2 separate regions of the Homo sapiens genome follow, and region 2 is linked to region 1. The links are contacts of gene promoters, found by promoter capture Hi-C in blood cells and fetal thymus (Javierre and others, 2016). All regions are on one chromosome and are shown on one strand. Each heading gives the region's core, a stretch centred on a gene start or on the middle of the fragment in contact. The rest is flanking DNA. Distances are from core to core; before and after follow the strand shown.

Region 1 (5,220 bases), core at 1-2,500:
CCGATGGCCGAAGGTGTACAGAGCCACCTGGCTGGCCACGTCCACGATGCGGTTGATATAGGGGTCGTGGCGCTGCAGGGCCGCTAGGCTGATGTCGCGCCCCTTTCCCACCAGGCCGCCTGCCGCCACGGCTGCCATCTTCCCTCCCTCCCAGACATAGGCACGGGGCTCTTGGAAGCCACTCTCAATAGATCGCAGAACGAGCGAGCTGCCTCGCAACCGAGAACCCACGGCGACCACACGGCCCGGGAGGCCTTCCGGCTCCAGTCACCCCCACCCTCCTGCCCGCCGACAGACGCAAGGCCTCACTAATCGATGGCCGCGCCCCGCCCACTGAGGATCGTTGCCACTGGCAACGACAAGCCCAGGCCTGCCCTCTGCATCCCGTTTCTTTCTCCAAGAGCTGTTTTTCTACGCGCTCGAGCCTTTGAGCTGTGTGTGCGGTAGGATTTCCTTCTTGGATGTGTTCGACCCCTTGGCATATCTTTTCTTTGGCGCTTCAGTGATCAAATCTATCACAATAAATAAGCCTCGAGCATCAAGAACTCTGAAGAGAAAGAGAACTGAATTGATTTCTGAATGCGCTAACACCCAGTGGTTCTCAAAGTGTGGTGTGGTCCTGGAACCCTTTGGGAGTTTCTGAGACCCTTTCAGGGGATCTGCAAGGTCAAAAAAAAAACAAAACCTTTTATGACAATGCTGAGACTTACTTATTTGACTTGTTCACTGTGGTGACGTTTTGCAGACAATGGTGGTTAAAAGCGCCGGTGGTTTAACCCAATCAAGGCAGGGGCACCAAACTGTATTGCTAGTCAAAGTACGCGTCACTAATCTGCACTCTCAGTTACAAAAGAAAAAAAAAAAAAGAAGAAGGTAGAGAGCCAGTGTCACCTGATGGTGTTCTTGATAAGCAGTAAGAATTATTAATTTCATTGAAGCTTAATCCTTGGGTACAATTCTTTTTAACATTCTGCATGAAAAAATAGGAAATAGGCATAAAGCACGTCTGCTGCAAAATGAAGTGTGTCATATTTGTCTCTAGGAAAATACTTCTGTGCTTGAGTTGTAGGCCGAATTCATGTTTTTATTTTTATTTTCATAAAACATTTTTACTTGAAAGAAAGATGGGCAAACTATGATTATTCAAACAGGTACTTGACAGACATTTTTCTGAAAATAAATAAAGTGTGCCTGTCACTTTCAGGAAAACAAGGGACAATTACTGCTGCCAATGATAATTTTTAAGCCTTCAAGCCAGAATTAAAAGTTTAGAAAATGTGTATCTACTGCCATGAGCTTGACATCTCAGTACTTAATGTTTTTTTTTCTGATGAGATCAGTGATGATATTAATGAGCGCAATTTTAACAAATCTTGTATAATGGAAAGTGTCAATATCTCAAAGATCTGCTTAACTCAGTGGTCCAGTATTTTCCAAAAGACCAATGTCTCATGCTACATAATCATGCACAGGCAAAAGATCCATTCAAGGACAAGGTGGACTAATGGATTTTTAATGTAACAGTATGAAAAGTTAATAGGATTTCAGATAGTACATTGCAGCTAAGCTTTGAGAAACTCCAGCTTGTCAAGTTTTGGTATATTATCCAAGAAGAATATCCACAATTGTCTGAAAAACTCTATTAAAATATCCATCTCTTTTCCAACTACATTATCTACATATGAGGCCAGAGTTTCTTCATATACTCCAAACAAAACACACATAGCCCGGGGTCTTTAAAGTTATTTTTAATTTCCAATATGGTAAATATAGGTGGGTATAACTCACATAAACAAAAGTTCTCTGAGGGAGTCCTTAATAATTTTTAAGAGTGGGCCAGGTGCGGTGGCTCCTGCCTGTAATCCCAGCACTTTGGGAGGCTGAGGCGGGCGGATCACAAGGTCAGTAGTTCAAGACCAGCCTGGCCAACATGGTGAAACCCCGTCTCTACTAAAAATACAAAAATTAGCCAGGAGTGGTGGCAGGTACCTGTAATCCCGGATACTCGGGAGGCTGAGGCAGGAGAATCGCTTGAACCCGGGAGGCAGAGGTTGCAGTGAGCCGAGATCCTGCCACTGCACTCCAGCCTGGGTGATAGAGCGAGACTCCATCTCAAAAATAAAATAAATAAAAAGTAATTAAAAAAATAATTTTTAAGAGTGTAAAGGAGTCTTGAGACTAAAAAGTTGAGAATGGTTGATCTAAACCATTTATCTAGCATTAAATATTAGAACAACTGTGCAGACATTACTACTCACATTCATAAATTCTTACCTATTTGATATAGAAATATCATAGATACGGCACACATACCCTCTCATAATAATATGTTGCAATATAATCTTTGCAGTCACAATTTCAATTGTACTGAAATTCTTGGTTAAGCTGCATTTTGGAGTCTCAGTCCTATTGACTCCCAAGCCTAACTTCCCAGTGGGGAAGAATACAGCAATGGCTTTCAAACAACTTTTTTTTGACTGAGGCTGGGGTCATTTGCAGTCTGACTGAGAACATATGTTTATATATTTATACCTGATATTAACTAGAATAAATGTTTCAATACTAAGTATACAGACATTTTTTAAAATGCTATTTGTGACTTTGTAAATTGGTTTCATGACCAACTAATGGATTGTGACCTGTAGTTTGAAAAACATAGGGCTGCAGCAACTGAGCAACCACACAAAGCTGACTAGACAACTTTCCATGTTAGTTCACTACCTTTTTCCAGTGTTACTGACCTCTTTGCTCTTAATCACATATGTGCTTCTAAAAACAAGTTTAATCTGTAATATGGGCAATGGAGAATTTTGTGATTAATTCTTGAACTAGTCACACTCTCTCACTTGATTAGCTGTTCTAATTTTGATTTTTCAGCATGAACCCACAGATTCTACTTTGCATTTCCCTCGTACATATAATGAGGCATTGTTTTTCTTTTGTCTGTTAAGTTCCATGATCCTTACACAGATCATTGTCCTCATAATTTTTCAGTCTTTCCATCTTTAAAGTGTAAAGAATAGATCATGGCCTCCAAAGAACGAATTGCTTTGAGCTCATTAGAGAAGACAGGCAATATAGGGGCCATTGTAAAAGCTTAAATGTTCATAAAACAAAAGTGTATACAAGTCTTAGTGATCTGTATGACTACAATTGCAAAGCATTTATGGAGTGCTCACTTGATGAAATTCATTAATTCTTCATGATTTATTATTGCTTCTTGTGTCTGTGCTGAAATTACATGGTCATGTCTTCTCCAGTCTTTGATCTCACTGATGAGTAAGATGAAGATACCCTTACTTTGCTTACGGGGAAAATTTCACATATGTGAACAACATGCTAATATGACCCTTAGTAGAGAAGAGTTAATTTTTTGTGTGTTTAGAGTTAATGAAACAACCCATCTTCTGTTCTAACCTCCTTGTATCTGAACTCTTTTCTCCCAAGTATCTTACACATTCCTATCTCTGTACCTTTGCCCATCTGTCTTCTTAGCTTGGAATGACCTTTTCCTGGAAAACTCACCTCCTGTCTTCTCCCATACAATCCTTTCAGCCTATGAATCCTCATTGCATTCTGTTGCGATTTTTCTTGTGGCACTTAGCTCACTTTATCCTGACTTAGACTTATTTATTTACTACGTTACATATACATTTTTTTCCAATTCTAAAAAAAAACAGTCATTGTAATAAAAGAGAATTGTTATAGAAAATCTAGCCTGAAAACATTATTGCAATTGAACAAGAAATTGGGCTTTGAGTTTCTTGACAGATAAGCAAAAAGGAGGAAATAGTATGTTTCATAAAGTTTTACTTATTTATTTATTTATTTATTTATTTTTTGAGACAGGGTCTTTCTCTGTCGCTCAGGCTGGAGTGCAGTGGCACAATCACAGCTCACTGCAGACTTGACCTCCTGGGTTCAAGCACTCCTCCCACCCCAGCCTCCCAGGTAGCTGGGACCACAGGCTGGTGCCACCATGCCCGGCCAATGTTTTTTATATTTTGTAGTGATGGGGTCTCACTACGTTGCTCAGGATGGAGATGTTATTTTTCATGTTTTGTAGTGATGGGGTCTCACTATGTTGCTCAGGATGGAGATGTTACTTTTTATGTTTTGTAGTGATGGGGTCTCACTACGTTGCTCAGGATGGAGATGTTATTTTTTATGTGCTTATCACCACGTAGTCTCCCTAGCACTTGGTCCAATGCCTTGTACATAATAGAGATTCAATAAATGCTTATTCTTTTGAACTAAACCCTGAGTTAGTTGAATTTACTCATTAAATGTCAGCATTTTTTAAAGAGCTCATGATTTATAAAATAATGAAATCCAAGTTGGGATAAAAAAACGTGCAATAGCAAGTCCTGTTCTCTCAGATTTTATATTCTAAGGGAGATAGAAAAACATGGAAAGGTTTTTGGTTTTTTAACTTTCAAACAAAAAACTCTTGAAGATTAGAAATCATACTCAGAGAAAAAAGATAAATAATGTTGCAATGACTTCAGCATTGCCATATTGTTCATCTCCCTGGCCCACAGAGATTTATTTATTTTTTATTCTTTTTTCCTCCCCACAAAGGCCTAAAGCTCTGACCTTCTAGGATGACGCCAGCCTTCTGCCTTCTTTCTATTTGAATAATCTGTGTTTGTAAAACCAGGTCATCATCACTTAACCAAATATACTAAGTTGCAGGCTCGATATTAGTAAAAGACCATTTCGAATAGGCAAATTCTTTTTTAATCCGTGTAACTTCCATTTCTGTTGGCGCCCAGAGTGCTGGCGTACTTCCACTGTGTTTCCATAAGCCTCATGATGATACCTTGGACAAATATTGGTGACTTCGAGTTTCATGATTATATTATAATTGTCATTATGAGATTAAACATATGCTCACACTTGGTTTTACAAAGTTGGATACTGCAATTTAAAACAAGTTTGTAGAATGATAAAAAAATAATGTTTGGGTCTGGAATTTTTATACCATGGCAATGACTGAGTAAGACAAAATTCAGCATCTAATCAATTAAGGTAATTGTAAGAAGACAGTATGTTTAGATTCTTTGAAAATCAGAATATAACTGAAAACTGGTTTTGTAGGCATGAATGAATGTTTGCATACAAATATAGATTGACTATATCATCACAATTTTAAAACACAAATACACAGTCTGCTTTATTAGTACTCTTTTCTTTGTTGTGTAAATACCCTCTAAGTCT
Region 2 (5,085 bases), core at 2,061-4,560, 870 kb after region 1:
CACTGTGCTCGGCCAGAAGCCTGACTGTTGTAAGCATCAAGACTGACTACACACCTTGCCACTACAGAGGAAAGGCTGGGCTCCCTCACCCCTTTCCCTGGAAGACCACATACCACAGGTCTCCCGTTTCTGCTCGCAAAGGGCTCCAGGTGGTCTAGGAAGATTCACATCCCTAGCTGCAGGTTTTGGTCCCAAGGTCTCCAGGGTCACTTCTGTCCTTTTGGCATCATAGCTGGTTTGGGTTTGAGGCCGGAGTCCTGGAGGCTGAGTTGGGGCTCCCCCACAGCTGATGAGGATGAATTTGTTGGGCCCACTACTGCCACTCTCTTTTCCCTTGGCAGTCAGTGCTGTGATGATGCTGTGAATATTAGCATTGTTGGGGATGGCCACTACTTGCGTGTTGGGCATGGTGGGGTGGTTAATAATCTTGATCCCAGCTGGAAACTTGCAAGAGTTGGACTCTGCCACTTCCTTGGAGGCCTCTGCTTGATTAGACTCCTGTTGGGCAGGGGATCTCTTAGGTTCCTCCTCTGATGTTTCACTTGGGGCATTTTGAACAGGAAGGGGCAGCCTCCGTCTTTTGAGAATCAGTGGCCGACGGGGGCTAGTTTTCATTATGAATCTGCGTTTTCACTCTCCATTGAGAATCACAAGTGTGGACCCTGGAAAATGCAAATAGTGGCAAGATGTTAGAGATTGTTTAGGCTGAGAAGAGGTCCTTTTAGAGAAAGGTGCTCCTCTTTATATGACCAGGAACATGAGCCTAAAGGCCCAGGTAAACATTCCATGGACTTTTGTAAAGACCTCAGATAATAAGGAGATAAGCTTTACTGACAAAAGAAGGCTAAAATTACAGCAGACAGAAGCAATTCAAAGGGCAAAAATGGGACTGGGTTGGAGATAAGACAAAGATCTCCTTGAAGCTTCAGAATATTTGGCTACAGAAATGGATGGGATAGCTACAAATATGTGGAAATCTCTATAATTGCCTACTATAATATAAATAGATCACTTGCAATGACTGTATGGACAGAAATGGAAGATGCTAGAATAGGAAAGCATATGGTAATTAGGAGTCCTGATGAAACTCTGATCCCATAATCCATTCAAGACAAAGGATTTTAATTTTTTTTTTTTTTTTTTTTTTGAGACAGAGTCTCACTTTGTCACCCAGGCTGGAGTGCAGTGGCACGATCTCAGTTCACTGCAACCTCTGCCTCCTGGGTTTAAGCGAGTCCCACGTCTCAGCCTCCTGAGTAGCTGGGATTACAGGTGCCCACCACCACGCCCGGCTAGTTTTTGTATTTTTAGTAGAGACAGGGTTTCACCATGTTGCTCAGGCTGGTCTCAAACTCCTGACCTCAGGTCATCTGCCCGCCTCGGCCTCCCAAAGTGCTGGGATTACAGGCGTGAGCCACCGCGTCTGGCCAAGCCTTTTGATTTTTATATTACTTTGTAAATAGGACCAGTGCACACAGAATCAGGGAAGAAAGGCAGATTGTACTATTGCCACACTACTGGAAAAATCATCTCCCAGTTTACAAAACCTCACATAAAATGGAAACCTCTACTGAAGGCCCATGTAAAGTTGTGCAGCTTGTGCACTGAACAACTCTAGAGGGTGACATTTATTTCACAGGCTATTATACTTGCTCTAATTTAAAAAGCATGTTTTCTTTTACAATTTGTATTGTATTTATACAGTGGCATTTTAGTACTTGCATGTGGTTATATATATTTTAACTAAGCATGCCACTTTATTAATTTCTTTTCCAGAAATAAGACTATAACCCCTGTCTTCTTAGTACCACAATGAGCTATCATCATTACACTAAGGTGGTTCTGAAATGCTAACAGTGTAGTCTTTTTTTTTTAAGTCTTTTGTTGATTTTTTTTAATTTTTTTTTTTTTTTTGAGACGGAGCTTCGCTCTTGTCACCCAGGCTGGAGTGCAATGGCGCAATCTCAGCTCACTGCAACCTCGGCCTCCCGGGTTCAAGCGATTCTCCTGCCTCAGCCTCCCGAGTAGCTGCAATTACAGGCATGCACCACCATGCCCAGCTAATTTTTTTTTTTTTTTTTTAGTAGAAACAGGGTTTCACCATGTTTGCCAGGCTGGTCTTGAACTCCTCAGGTGATCCACCCGCCTCGGCCTCCCAAAGTGCTGGGATTACAGGCGTGAGCCACTGCGCCCGGCCTTTTGTTGATTTTAATAGATACATGGAATATTCTACCATTAAGCAAAATTGTGTAATTCTATTTCACGGAACTTTGGAAGACAGAGGAATTGGCTGTCTCTTTTTTAGGACACTTATTCTCTCCCTGAAAAGCAACTGCACTTTTTTGACATTTGTCATCTGCATAGAGTTCACAGGCCCTCCACACCTCTACCTTCAAATCTCAGTTTTACTTTCACCTCCGATCTTTCCAGGCTTCCCTCTCTCCCCGCATCAATCAGTAGATATTATTCCTCTTTTTCCACAGGATATCTAAGTCTTAATTTTCTCTTCTACTTCCTGACCAGCCCGTTATTATTATTGCCAACACTTTCTTGCCCGGGAAACTTCCAGAGTGGCTCCTCCGACCCATCCCCATCCTGAGCGGGGAAATCTTGCTACATTCTCAAGAACCAGGAAAAGGGCCCTGCAAAAGGGTAAGTAAGATGGAGGCGGTGTTGCCTAGTGGTGAGACAGCCTGGGAGCAGGGGAGTGTGTATGCAGGTTGGTCTTTGACTCAATGTAGTACAATCTCAGTCTTCATCTCAGCCACAGTCGGCCTAAGAAGGTAGGCCACCCCAGCCCTCCCGAGGCCGCGGGCAGGGTGCGGAGGTCAGACTTCCAGGGAAGGCCAAGGGGCGCTTTAAGCAGTGAGAAGGCCACGGCCAGGAGGTGGACGCAGAAAAAACTTGCACCCTGGCTCAGATTCTTCCCGTGTGACCCAAATCTCCACTCGTGGCCCGTGCCCTGCTGCTAGACGCCCTGACCTCCGCGCCCGGAGGCCTTGCTCCCCGCCTGTGCCCAGGCCAGGCCTGGGACTCCATTGCTGCATCCCGCTCACCTCCAGACTGCAGTCGCCGCCGCCGTTAGGCCGTAGCTCCGAAGGCGGGCTCCGGGCTCCTCCAACCTGGGGGCCGAGCCAGGGCCCCGGACGGGGGCTCGCGCCGGACCGGCCGGGTCCCCGGCGGTGCGGGCGGGGTGGGAACCCCGGGGGATCCCGGGAGGGGAGGGGGTCCCGGGCCGGGGCCGGGGGTGGGGTCTGGCACCGGAGCTTTCAGTTTGTTCCGCTGTTTGAAATTGGCGCCGGCGGAGCGTTAAGGTCACGTGACGGAACGTCGCCAATCGGCGCCGGCCTTGTCTCGGCATTCCGGGCTCGAAGGCTGTGCGGTCTGCCAGGAGCTGCGGCCCCGTCCGGCCCGGGCTGGTAAGGCGGACCGCAGGCCGGCTTGTGGGGGAAGAAGTGGCCGTGGGGCCGGGGAGGGGCCGGAGGGGTCCCCGCCGCGTGGGTGGGCGAGCCGAGGGAGAGTTTGGGGACGCGCGGAAGCGGCGTGACAGGCCCGGGTCCCTGGGCCCGCTTTTCCTGCCGCGCTGGTCACGCCAGGCGACACGCCCCCGCTTCCCCTCAGGCTCCTCTGCTCCCCTTTTCAAAGCTCGGCTTTAGTTGATTTCCTCACTGGGGGAAATCGTACCCCATTTTCCCACAGTGAACGATCGTCTGCTCCCCCCGATTAGACTAAGTTCCTTTGAGGGCTGCGTATTATCTCCGCTTTCTTCCATCTTGAAAAAAAATGTCGGCACCATGAACCCTACCTCAGCGCGAAACCTGTCTTTTGCCCCTCCCGAAGCCAAGCCTTCGGATATAATAGACCGTAGTGCTTTATTTATTGACTTAGTCAACCAGTCTAGTTGAGCAACTGCTGTGCGCCAGGCACCGCTAGGCCCTGAAGATACAATGGCAGACAAGGTTCTTTCCTTCCCCTGGGCTCACAGCCCAATCCTGGAAGAGGGGCACAGACATTTTAATCAAATAAACAAATGTGGGCTGGGCATAGTGGCTCACGCCTGTAATCCCAGCACTTTAGGAGGCCGAGGCGGGTGGATCACTTGAGGTCACGAGTTCGAGACCAGCCTGGCAACATAGCGAAACCGCTTCTCTACTAAAAATTAGCCGGGCGTGGTGGTGCGTGCCTGTAGTCCCAGCTACTCTGGAGGCTGAGGTGGAAGGATCACCTGAGGCCGAGAGGTGGAGGCTATGGTAAGCCATGATCACACCACTGCACTCCAGCCTGGGCGACAGAGGGAGACACCGTCTCCAAAACAAACAAATGTTGAATTATTGCTGTAAATTGAAACATTAGAGGTTAATGATACTTTGAGTATTTACAATAACGAGATCTTGAGAGGTAGGACAGGAAAGGCTTTTGTAATGAGAGCTTGGTGTGAGATCTGATGCCTTTTACAAAGAAAGGAGGGAACTCCTCTAAGCAGAGGGAATCAGGCGTGCAAAGGCTGGATGGCAGGAGGAAGCACAGTGAGTACAAAGGCTGAGAAATATCTGAGGGGTTTGAGCTAATCGACCTGAATGGAGTGTGGTGTGAGTTGAAGCTGGAGCCGGAGGAAGCAGAGCCTTAGCCATACCGAGAAGTTTTGTGCTTATCCAAGAATTAAAGGAAACCAGTCATAAGCTTTAAGCAGAAGTGAATCCAGGTCAGATTTGCATTTTAAAAGGTCCCTCTATAGCGGGGATTGCTAGAGTGGATTAGGGCAGAACAGTTGGATGTTGCAATACTCCAGGCAAGAACTGCTGGAGCTTGAAAAAGGGTGGCAGGGAGAGAGAGAGAGGAAGAGAAAGAAGGAGACAGAGAGAGTAAAAAAGGGGCATTAAGAAAACATGTTTAAGAGGTAAAGTTGACAGGGCTTGATGGTGGGTTGGATGGGAGGTAGAAGTGTCAAGATTTTCAGCTGCATAACTGAAGGAATAATGACACTATTCCCTGACCAAGGGCCCTGGAAGATAATCACTTTGGCCAAGGGACGGGCGGGGGGTTGTCAGGGGAATGATCGTGAATTCAGTTTTTGTTTTTTTACTA

Evidence for each region. The method cuts DNA at HindIII sites, captures the fragments that hold promoters and counts their contacts. A CHiCAGO score of 5 or more calls a contact.
Region 2: the fragment with the promoter of FOXM1 here is called in contact with a fragment that was not itself captured in region 1 in 3 of 17 cell types (total CD8 T cells, fetal thymus and naive CD8 T cells); the score reaches 5.8 in total CD8 T cells.

The regions. Positions count from the first base shown.
Region 1 is chr12:2,004,294-2,009,513 of GRCh38, forward strand. It overlaps DCP1B (decapping mRNA 1B), which reads right to left and starts at 164. Exons shown (of 9, transcript NM_152640.5): 1 at 1-164. The coding sequence starts at 138. It also overlaps a transcript of CACNA1C not described here. RefSeq lists an enhancer at 210-439. The HindIII fragment of the contact is 629 bases long and covers 937-1,565 here.
Region 2 is chr12:2,873,864-2,878,948 of GRCh38, forward strand. It overlaps FOXM1 (forkhead box M1), which reads right to left and starts at 3,311. Exons shown (of 9, transcript NM_021953.4): 1 at 3,057-3,311; 2 at 114-662. The coding sequence starts at 615. It overlaps RHNO1 (RAD9-HUS1-RAD1 interacting nuclear orphan 1), which reads left to right and starts at 3,360. Exons shown (of 3, transcript NM_001252499.3): 1 at 3,360-3,419. RefSeq lists silencers at 3,067-3,136, 3,177-3,616. The HindIII fragment of the contact is 3,757 bases long and covers 922-4,678 here.